Linked DNA regions of Homo sapiens: region 1 is linked to region 2. The links are contacts of gene promoters, found by promoter capture Hi-C in blood cells and fetal thymus (Javierre and others, 2016). All regions are on one chromosome and are shown on one strand. Each heading gives the region's core, a stretch centred on a gene start or on the middle of the fragment in contact. The rest is flanking DNA. Distances are from core to core; before and after follow the strand shown. Region 1 overlaps ZNF180 (zinc finger protein 180). Region 2 holds the start of ZNF230 (zinc finger protein 230).

Region 1 (6,386 bases), core at 266-2,765, 480 kb before region 2:
TTTCATAGATCATCGTAATTATTCATTCAACCCAATGATTTAGGTATTATTAGGCCTAATAAATAGAAATGGAATAAACTCGCCAGGGAAAGACAATTGGGTCAGGTGTGGTGGCTCATCCCTGTAATTCCAGCACTGTGGGAGTCTGAGATGGGAAGATTCCTTGAACACAGGAGTCTGAGACCAGCCTAAGCAATATATTGAGGGTCTGTCTCTACAAAATTTTAAAAATTAGCCAAGCACGGTGATGCACACCTGTAGTCCCAGCTACTTGGGAGACTAGGTGGGAGGATCACTTGAGCCCAGAAGATGGAGGCTGCAGTGAGCCATGATTGTGCCACTGTACTCCAGCCTGGGCAACAGAGTGAGGTCTTGTCTCAAAAGAAAAAAAAAGGACAGATTGTCAGATTAGATGTATTTCTTAAGCAGATATATGCCCTTTATAGGTGAGAAAGCCAAGTCTTTGTATCTTCTACATCCAGTGTTCTTCACCTATACATACTGCTTTTCATCGAGGTCCACATTTCATTTTCTGTCTCATGCATTAGCAAAGTACAGCCTGTGGCTGTTTTTGTAAATAAAGATCTATTGTAATGTAGCCACACCCATTTGTTTATATATTTTCTGTGGCTAATTTCTTGCTATAGCAGCAGAGTTGAGTAGTGTGATAGAGACTGTATGGCTGGCAAAGTGTGAAATATTTACTATCTGGCCTTTGACAGAAAAAAATCAACCACCCCTGTTTCATTAATTTCTTGGGAATTTAGAGGGAATTCCTAAGTGGGAATTCTATATTCACCAGTGCAAAAGTCAGAATAAGCATCCTTTTTAAGGCAGACAAAATAAAATAGTTTATATCAGTTCTTATCTGGTATTCCTCTTTGGAGTTGTAAAAACAGGTCCAGCATCCAAAACCCAAAGAGCTCACCCAGAAGGCACCTGTACATCTTGACTGGAATCTTTTGGGCACTGACAATTTAAGGACAACTCCCAGGTCACCAATTTTCCTTTTTCCATCTGTCAGACTTTTCCTCCTCCATGAACTTTGGAAGGAAATGATGCCCAGCTGAGCAGGAATGTGTGTCCTTTTTTAGGAAGGAGTGAACTTCAAAATTGTGACTGTGGACTTCACACGGGAGGAACAGGGTACTTGCAACCCTGCTCAGAGGACCCTGGACAGAGATGTGATCCTGGAGAACCACAGGGACCTAGTCTCTTGGGGTAAGAATACACTCCTCTTTAATGAAGATCCATCTACTGAAATGATTTCACATTCTGATCGATTAAGAACTGTGAAATTCAGCAGCCAGAATGATTTTGGCTGCATCTAGATTGTGTTTGTGCTCTTTATTCCCCAGTGAAGATTAATTTTAGTTTGTAGGGTAGAAATAGTGCAGATTCTTGGGCTTGAGATTTTCAGTCTTCATGTTCCTAAAGACCAAAGGCCAGGACCAGATTCTGCAGTAATTTTCTTTTGTCCCCAGCTTTGAAAACTCAAATTCCTGTATCTTTCCTTGTCAGCTTTTTGAAGCAGATACAATCTCCTAGTTGGAGCAAGGGAAAGAATATAAAAAGAATTTTCCAATACATGTGTTCAAGTGAGAACCAGACACATAGGGGTCATTACAGGTGTAGAAGGTCCATTTGAAAAAATCCGCATAGAAGATGCCACATTTTTTCTTCATTTCCCACCTCCTGGTGGACTGTATACATGACTACTTTTTCCATATATACTCTCTATTGCTTGACCTAGTAGCCACCCAGGCTACTAGGAGCAAACTTCTAGTCTCTCTCAGTTGGAATCACAGAAATTTGTGGGGCTTTATTGGTTCCTAAGGTAGTTAGGGAACTGGATAATAATGCCCCATTCCTTTTCTTTTGTTCACAAACATAGTTTCCTCATGCCTCACTGACACAGAGTAGAGTATTTAGCAAGTTTTATGCCTTCAGAAATTCCTGGATATGTAGACACTAATCTCTTAGTGAACATCTGTGTAGCACTAAAGAGTGGAAAAGACTCTCTATACATATTGCAAAATTGGGTTGCAATTCTGTAGGTTCTATGTAGATGATCTTATTTTGGAATATGCAGGTATTTGACATCCAGAGTCTTATTTATTCAGACTAAGATTAAACCAAGATTACAATAGTTCCATTTTAATGCTCTGTTGTAATATTGGGCTGTGGTAGTTCTGTACTTAATACTTTATCTCACCCTTTTGCTTTTTCAACCTAGGTTATCGGTCAGTATTTGAAAACAAATTCATATATATTTTTCATACTTTCTTGTTAGCTTTATTCCATTTTTCCATCTCTAATATTTTTTGACTAAGATGTCTTATATTGCTTTCTTTCAGACTTGGCAACTGCAGTTGGAAAAAAAGATTCAACTTCAAAGCAGAGGATTTTTGATGAAGAACCAGCTAATGGAGTGAAGATAGAAAGGTTTACAAGGGATGATCCTTGGTTATCTTCATGTGAAGAAGTGGATGATTGTAAAGACCAGTTGGAGAAGCAACAGGAAAAACAAGAGATACTTTTGCAGGAAGTGGCATTCACTCAAAGGAAAGCAGTTATTCATGAGAGAGTCTGCAAAAGTGATGAAACTGGGGAGAAGAGTGGTCTGAATTCCAGTCTATTTTCATCCCCAGTTATACCCATAAGAAACCATTTTCATAAACATGTATCACATGCTAAAAAATGGCATCTTAATGCTGCTGTAAACAGTCATCAGAAGATTAATGAGAATGAGACACTATATGAAAATAATGAATGTGGAAAACCCCCTCAGAGCATTCACCTTATTCAGTTTACAAGAACTCAAACAAAAGATAAATCCTATGGATTTAGTGACCGTATTCAATCTTTTTGCCATGGTACACCCCTACATATACATGAAAAAATTCATGGAGGAGGAAAAACCTTTGATTTTAAAGAATGTGGGCAGGTTTTGAACCCCAAAATATCCCATAATGAACAACAGAGAATTCCTTTTGAAGAGAGTCAATATAAATGTAGTGAAACCTCTCATAGTTCCTCCCTTACTCAAAACATGAGAAATAATTCTGAAGAGAAACCTTTTGAATGTAATCAGTGTGGGAAATCCTTCAGCTGGAGCTCGCATCTTGTTGCACATCAGAGAACTCACACAGGGGAGAAACCTTATGAATGTAGTGAATGTGGAAAATCCTTCAGCCGGAGCTCGCACCTTGTTTCCCATCAGAGAACTCATACTGGAGAGAAACCTTACAGGTGTAATCAATGTGGGAAATCCTTTAGCCAGAGTTATGTCCTTGTTGTGCATCAAAGAACTCATACTGGGGAGAAGCCTTATGAATGCAATCAGTGTGGAAAGTCATTCAGGCAGAGCTATAAACTTATTGCACATCAAAGAACACATACCGGAGAGAAGCCCTATGAATGTAATCAATGTGGGAAATCATTTATCCAGAGCTATAAACTTATTGCACATCAAAGAATTCATACTGGGGAAAAACCCTATGAATGCAATCAGTGTGGGAAATCCTTTAGTCAAAGTTATAAACTTGTTGCTCATCAGAGAACTCACACAGGAGAAAAACCCTTTGAATGTAATCAGTGTGGGAAATCCTTCAGCTGGAGCTCTCAGCTTGTTGCACATCAAAGAACTCACACTGGAGAGAAACCGTATGAATGTAGTGAATGTGGAAAATCTTTTAACCGCAGTTCTCACCTTGTTATGCATCAGAGAATTCACACTGGGGAAAAACCGTATGAATGTAATCAGTGTGGGAAATCCTTCAGCCAGAGTTATGTTCTTGTTGTACATCAGAGAACTCATACTGGAGAAAAGCCCTATGAATGCAGTCAATGTGGGAAGTCCTTCAGACAGAGTTCATGCCTTACTCAACATCAGAGAACTCATACTGGAGAGAAACCATTTGAATGTAATCAGTGTGGAAAAACATTTAGCTTGAGTGCTCGACTTATTGTGCATCAAAGAACTCATACTGGAGAGAAACCCTTTACATGTATTCAGTGTGGAAAAGCTTTCATTAATAGCTATAAACTTATTAGGCATCAGGCAACTCATACTGAAGAGAAACTCTATGAATGTAACTAGTTTGTAAATCAGCTGGGATTTCTTCCTTTTTATTTCATTCTTTTAAAAAATTTATTTTAAGGTAGTACATGTAGTTGGAAGAACTACTATAAAAACAATATATGTGGGAAAACTTCCAGCCCTCTGTTAATTGTGTGTCTCAAATTTGTTCTGGAAAAGAAAGGGGGAAAGTCTATGAACGACTTTTCAACCTGGCAATTCCATATACAATGTTAAACTTGATTCTTATGACATATTCCTATGAAAATAATAAATACTGGCACTTTTCCTTGCAGAAAGCACTCAGACCTGAATCAGAGAAAATCATATGCCAAAGCCAACTGCCAGTGTTAGACCTCTTTTTCCATAAAGAGTAAATGGAATGCTAACACTAGTGGGCTTATTGAGAAAATTTAAAGGTTGCTGTAGTGTTTAGAACTTAGGCTGGAAAACCATATTTTAGTGCATCATTTTACTACATGATCTTCCAATTAGATAGCTTGTAATCTGTTCCTTACAGCACTTGCTGTTGTTACATGTGAAGATTTTATAAATTTTAGGAAAGTGTCTATGATATATAGTGAAAAGTGTGGGAAAAGAATATAGAAATAATATTCACTTCTAAAACCATTATGATAAAATATTTGTGTATGGATTAGAATAGAAAGGGATTATGGATGTATCTATTCAATTTCTCAGTTTATGTTGGGCCTTCCTTTTTGGAATGTACGCTGTTATGCTATGATAAATGATATAATGAGTAAAAATTATTCAAAGCCAAAAATGAAATACAAAGATTTCCTTCTTTGACTATTTAGGAAAGACTAAGCAACCAAATAGCAAAGATCCCTCAGGATAATGAGGTTTATGTTTGGAATAGCATGAGCAGATTACTACTTAGGACATAGATTCCTAGGAACATTCCTCATTGAAAATAAAATGGATTCCTGGAAATAGGTAACTAGAAATTTTGGCCAGAAATGGTTTCATATGAAGAACTGAGAATGCGTGGGAAGTATAGAGGGCAAGTGGGCTTATTTTCATATATGCAAAGCAATATTAAGGAACTCTATTTTCATGTTTTAGTTCTTCCCCTCATGTAGCATTGTCTCTTTCCTCTGGGATATGTTCCCTGATGTGAGAGTCCTCTGAATAGAAGGGTGCTTCCCTGGCTCAGTGCTGACCGTCTAAATTATGCTTGCAAAAATGCTTTCATGAGGCAAAGTTTTAGTTACTCTTTGATATTTAAGATTTGATTAACATGTCTTTCTGACCTTTCCCTTGAATCATGAATTTGAATCCTGTGGATGACCATATATTGAAGCCTCTGATCCCAGAAAGGTAATAAGCTGAAAGTTGAACTGAGAGACCAGATAATAGAGGTTAATACCCTTGGGATAGGAAAGAAAACTTAAAGGGTAACTGATGGGGTTATCCTTAGCAAAATTCTATCCCTATGAGATGACCCTAAGTGGAGCCATCTCTATGAGGATTAATCCAGAGATTGTTGCACACCTGGCAGTGTCAGGTCTGGGAAAACAGTTGCTGATGTTTTCATGGAGTGTGAAATACTGAAAGCTGCGGGCATCCCTTGGGGACCACTGACCCACACTTTGAAGAACCCTCAATGAGTCTGAAAGAGGTTCAGTATCTCTTGGGAAGGATGTGTTCCAGGCTCCAGGCCTAGTCTTACATGGCCAGTGGGGTTGAAAGACTGTGCCCCTGCAATGGTCTTTTCCTAAGACAGTTGAACAAAGTTCCAAGTCTGTCTGTCCTATTTTAACCATCTTTAAGAAGCACAAAGGGGATATGAGAAAAACAGATGCTGAAATGAAAATTTTAACTGATATCTTACTTATCTCACAAGTCGTGTAAAGAAAGAAATGATATGGTCGAATATTAGATTAGATGGTTTAATGATGTTTTGAGTGTTATATATGAGCTATGATGAGACCTAGAAAATAAAGTAAAAATAAAAAATATATAAGCCATGAACATTCTTCATATTCAGTGACAGTCTGCCTGCCACACCCAGGAATTACAGAGACACTCATAGACCTCACGGGATCCTCCCCTATGTCTCCCATCTCTTCACCACCAGCCCTCAGGGAGTCTCATGTCTCCCAATTACTCTCCAATCATTCCTAGATTTCTGTAACAGTCAGGCCCTGACACCCATGTAACAAGCAGAAACTCAGGGACCTCACAGGGCTCTGGCCCCATGTCTCCCAACTCTTTACTCCAGGCCCTCAGGTACTCTCCTGTGTCTCCCAGATTCTCTCAATCCCCAGCTTACTGCAACATT
Region 2 (5,691 bases), core at 735-3,234:
TTTCACCATGTTGGCCAGGATGGTCTCGATCTCCTGACCTCGTGATCCACCCGCCTCGGCCTCCCAAAGTGCTGGGATTACAGGCGTGAGCCACCGCGCCCAGCAAAAATATTTTAGATATCAGGAAATAGTCATAAGGATAATGGGAATAATAAAATTGAGCATTATATAATATGGCAGTTCACTAGTTTATTCTTTTTTTTTTTTTTTTTTTTGAGTCTCACTCTGTTGCCCAGGCTGGAGTGCAGTGGCGTGATCTTGGCTCACTGCAACCTCCACCTCCCGGGTTTAAGCAATTCTCCTGCCTCAGCCTCTAGAGTAGCTGGGACTACAGGCACGTGCCATCACGCCCGGCTAATATTTGTATTTTTGGTAGAGATGGGGTTTCACCATGTTGGCCAGGCTGGTCTCAAACTACTGACCTCAAGTGATCCACCTGCCTTGGCCTCCCAAAGTGCTGGGATTATAGGCATGAGCCACCACAACCAGCCTCACTAGTTTAGTCTCTATTAGCAATATTTAAAATTTTCTATAGTTAAAAGACATATGGGAAAACACATTAAAATATAACAATTTTTAAAAAAATGTTTATCAACAAATATAGAAGTAGACACAAAGAAAGACAAAAGAAATCAATTAGAAGCTTAACAGTTACTACCTTTACATCTTGGATACATGGGTAATTAAAAAACTTTTTCTACTCTCATTTCTCCTATTTCAGACTTTTCCACAATGATACAGTTCCACAACAGTACGAAATACTTGGAAAACATGAAACAAAATAGTTGAGAAATTTTTAAAAATTCCTAGACGTCCAAGCCCACGAGCCTTGCTCTCAACGTCCTTTCAATCAGGTCCTAACTTGCTTTCCCTACGAGTCCAGCTAGTTCCTCTGCCTCAATGAGAATGTATCCAAGAGGTGATCAACTCAGGCTCTGACCTGGACTGCCTAGGTGCCAACCCCAGCTCTACCTCTCACTAGTTGGCTGCTATGCACCCTGTGTCTCACTCTCATTTTTAAAACAAAGAAAAGCAATACTTCACAGAGCCACAGTGTGGCCTAAATTTATTTGTATAAAGCACTTAGAATGAAGTTACCAATTACGGCTTAATGATTATCAACACCCATTCCCGAGGACACACTCTCGGTTGGGTGAACATCTCTATAAAGGAAAAAAGCCAAGGACCAATCACATAGAGATTTGCCCTCAGTAGCCAAGAAGTCCCCTCCCTGCAGCTCTTTTAGAAAGGTCAGGCTGGGGAAGGCGAAAGTTGTGAAATACCCTGACTGCATCGCGGTCCCCCATAAAAGTTAAATGCTCCCCGCCCTTCGTGGAAGCGGACGCAACTCGCTTTCCTAAAAAGAGGTCAGAAGGCCTCCCGGGATCATCCAGCGTCCTGCAGGGATTAGGGAGAAGGACCAGGGCCCCTGCAGCTGAAGCTATGACTCCACCCGGGGACCTGACCTCTTCGGGAAGTTAACAAGAGACCACCAGTCACCAAGTGACAGGGACTGCTTTAAGGTTCTCATTTGCGTTATCTCTTTCAGTTCCCAAAAACGATTCTACTAGGATGGTTCTAATGTCCCCATTACCAAAAACAGCAATGGAAAGTATAAGGACATTGAGTAACACTCCACGTCACACTGCGAGAAAGCGGTCGCACAGGTAGGGTGGAGAGAGGCAGGCTGAGCGAGGTCAAAGTCCTGGAAACGCTCACAGCAGGGCACAGAGGACCCCGCCAATTCCAACCCCCGGGATGCGAGCACAGCACCCCCATCCCAGAAAGCTTCCGTGGACGGGAAAAAAACCCCATTCCCCGCCCCCACCAAACCTCCGCTCTCCGCCAAGGCTTCTTTTCCCTTGCTTGGATCATCGATCATCGGGTCGTTGCGACCCCAAGCGAAGGTGACAAGTTCAGAAGGACCCGCCAGACGCAGAAATGGCTCAAACTACGCGGTTATGTAGCAACCGCAGGCTCACACACCGGAAGTGCTCGCGTCTCCACAGAGCGTCTGGACTCCACTTCCCAGAATTCCCCGGTTCAACTGCTTGAGCCAAAGGGTCCGCCATTCCATGAAGTTGATGGACTACAGTTCCCAGAATTCACTCGTCCACCCGCCTGAGCCAACTTGCCCGCGACTCAGAGTGTGTCTGGACTCCGCTTCCTCCAATGCCAAAGGAAAATGTCTATAATCTCACTCTTCAGCGGGAAGCGTTGGACTCCGCGGTGGTCCTTGACTACACACACCGCAGTGCCCACCGGGAACGTATTCCATATCTCTGAGCGCCTGGTGGGGAATGTGGACTGTGACCCTGTGAGTCGTCCGTCTCTCTTCCTGAGTCTTTGAGCGAAAATAGTGTATAGACAGGAATTCCTGAAGTCTAAACGCCTCCCACGATGACAGGAGTGTTATTGGGAAGAGAACAAACGAGGAGATAAAATCTTCAAGGATTAGGATAATCTGACGATGGGAGGTTAAAACTAACGGTTTAAAGGATGAGCCAGGTGGAATGGTTTGGCAGGGGCAATGAGGAGCAGGAAGACACCAGCCCCTACTCCAGAAGCTGTGGGACCACTGGTTTGGCAGGAAAAGCCACCCCCATTTAAGATCACAGCTACTAGTGGAGAAGCGGTGTCGTCATGGAATAGCTATCTTCCCATAAACTTTTCATGGTATTCATATTTCTCCTTAGATGTAGAAACATCAAATTTCAGCGAATGTAGTGAATTGCTCAGTACCTCAGAGCAATAATGACTGATGAAGAGCTAGGCATTGGTATCAATCTTACATTGAGATTGTAAATGCAGTAAAACGGGAGGATTCTATAGGTGAAGGAGCATGTCTTATAAAGAGTTTTCTTCCTGGCCAAGCGCAGTGGCTCAAACCTGTAATGCCAACCCTTTGGGAGGCCAGGGCAGGACGTTCCCTTGAGCTCAGGAATTGGAGACCAGACAGGGAAATACAGGGAGACTTCGTCTCTATAAAAATTTTTTTTTAACTGGCCAGGCATGGTGGCCTGATCTTGGGACTACAAGTTCCAAGTACTCAGGAGGCTGAGGTGGGAGGATTGCTGAAGCCCAGGAGTTTGATTGAGGCTGCAGTGAGCTATGATGCCACCACTGCCCTCCAGCCTAGGCAACAGATACCTCAATAATTAAAGATTTTTTTTTTTAAGTTTCTTCTTATTTCTTGGTGAAACATAATTTCTTTATTATAGTTAGCAATTTAAAAACTGGCATTGGTTAAAAAATAATAACAGTATAAAGCTAAATTAGGAAACAATTCATCTAAAAACCTGCTCTTTTGAAGGTAACTTTTTTTCTCCCTATAAACATACATTGGCCTATAAACCAATATTCTTCTTTTTAAAAAAAATGGAGTCTACTGTTTACCTATTTTTCTAAACTAAAAACTTTTCAAAATTTTGTTTAGACACAAAAATAAGGTGACTGTGCCAAACTTTTGATGCCAAACATCCGCTCTCTGAAAATTGAGTGATCACTATTCATATGCCAGTTATAGCTGTATCCTTGATCTACTCTGCCTTCCCGAAAGATAAGATGTATTGACACACTCAATCGTAGCATGCAGGGAACTGAGCCTAAAAGGTTAGGGGCACTTGGCATCAAAGGTCCCTTCTGCTTCCCAGGTCCGTGCACTCTGGGTCTGTGTTGGGAGGAGCAGCCTCTATGATCTCCTAGATGCCTTTGGGGTCATTCTTCCAGTGTTAATGGACAGCAGGTCCTGGCTTCTGTTGACATGACCAATCCAAACTAATCTCCTAAATCAGTTGCTTATCTCTACCGTTGTTTTATCCAGAACAGGTTTTCTAATTTTTTTTTCCAAAGTAGATAGGCTGTGAATTTTTAAAATTCTTAGTTCTGTTTCCCTTTTAATTAATAATTCTGACTTTCTGTGGTGTCCCTCCCACATGTGGGAATTCTGGGAGATACAATTCAAGCTGAGATTTGGGTGGGGACACATCCAAACCATGCCATTGATGACACTGACAAAAACAACAGGGAAAGGACTCCCTATTCAATAAGTGCTGCTGGGATAACTGGCTAGCCATATGCAGAAGATTGAAACTGGTCCCCTTCCTTACACCTTATACAAAAATGAAGCTGGGCGCTGTGGCTCACCTCTGTAAAAATGGGTAATAATGTCCCCACTTTTAGTTACTTGAGTCTTTTTTAGTCAGTCCTGCTAAAGTTTTCACAATTTTGTTAGTCTTTCAGAATAATCAACTCTTGGTTTGGTTGATTTTCTTTGTATTCTTCTTCTGTATTTTATTTATTAATACTTTAATCTTTATTATTTCCCTCCTAATCACTTTCTGTAAGATTCTCCTTTTCTAGTTCATGAAAATAAAATTAGGCTGTGGATGTCAGATCTTTCTTCTTTAATATAAGCATTTACAGATATAAATTTCCCTCCTCCTACTGCTTTTGCCTCATTCCAAAAGTTTTGGCCATTGTTTTCATTTTCAGTTGTCTAAGGTATTTCCTAATTTCACTCCTGATGTACTCTGACATATTATTTAAGAGTGTGCTGCATGCACACGTATGTTTATTGTGGCACTATTCACAATAGCAAAGACTTGGAACCAACCCAAATGTCCACCAATGATAGACTGGATTAAGAAAATGTGGCACATATACACCATGGAATACTATGCAGCCATTAAAAAAGATGGGTTCATGTCCTTTGTATGGACATGGATGAAGCTGGAAACCATCATTCTGAGCAAACTATCACAAGGACAGAAAACCAAACACCGCATGTTCTCACTCATAGGTGGGAATTGAACAATGAGAACACTTGGACACAGGGTGGGTATATATATATATATATATATATATATATATATATATATATACACACACACATACATATATACATATATATACATACATATATATACACATACATATACATATATATACATACATATATATACACATATATATATAAAGAGTGTGTTTAGTTTCCACATACTTGTGAATTTTCCACTTTTCATGATGTGATTGAATTTCAGCTTTTGTGATCTAGATTATAATTGGAAAAGACTTTTATGGTATTAAACTTTTGAATTTATTAAGATGTTTTATTGAATTTATTACAACGTTTTCAGCCTGTAGTGTGAGAAAAATTACAAATTATTGTTGAATTTATATTGTATTCAACCAATGGAACACTACACAAAGCCACAAATACTAAGAATGCAACTTCGGAATAGAGGAGGAGGGGAAGACAGGAACCAAGTGTGAACAGATATTATCAAAATAATGCTGTGAACTGCAGTATTTAGTGTACTCTGCATTTCAACTCAGGTGTCCCTGAATTATTTGTAGATTTCCTCTCTTAGATACAATTTAAAAACATCGCGTTTGCTCCTTTTAATTCATTTAACACATAGTGAACACAAAGTGATAATCAGTGTTAAAGTTGTGAAGATGCAGCAGAAAACACATGTCACTGACATTCTAGTGGTAATCAACTTTGATATGTTCATGATTCGTTTTGTAAATGCATGAATGAACTCTTAAGGTCTGTCTCCTGAATAACTGTAACTGTCAAACTTTTGTTTGAAGCCCTACTGCACAACTTACAAGGGTTCTCCACTGTGACAGTCCCAGGACCACTGGGGTATGCTGAGCTATGGCTGAAACAGGCTTTAACTTAAA

The links. Contacts are between HindIII fragments. The CHiCAGO score rates a contact against its expected background, and 5 or more counts as called.
Region 1: a contact is called between a fragment that was not itself captured here and the fragment with the promoter of ZNF230 in region 2, in 4 of 17 cell types (naive CD8 T cells, total CD8 T cells, total CD4 T cells and 1 more). The highest score is 9.1, in naive CD8 T cells.

The regions. Positions count from the first base shown.
Region 1 is chr19:44,474,118-44,480,503 of GRCh38, reverse strand. It overlaps ZNF180 (zinc finger protein 180), which reads left to right. Exons shown (of 5, transcript NM_001278509.3): 4 at 1,095-1,221; 5 at 2,358-6,061. The coding sequence ends at 4,102. Among named protein-coding and RNA genes, the nearest start is that of ZNF180, 23 kb to the left of the region's middle. RefSeq lists a silencer at 3,126-3,326. The HindIII fragment of the contact is 5,031 bases long and covers 1-4,030 here.
Region 2 is chr19:43,999,250-44,004,940 of GRCh38, reverse strand. ZNF230 (zinc finger protein 230) reads right to left here and starts at 1,984. Exons shown (of 5, transcript NM_006300.4): 1 at 1,834-1,984. It overlaps ZNF230-DT (ZNF230 divergent transcript), which reads left to right and starts at 2,071. Exons shown (of 3, transcript NR_110727.1): 1 at 2,071-2,676. RefSeq lists an enhancer at 1,712-2,221. The HindIII fragment of the contact is 6,099 bases long and covers 1,791-5,691 here.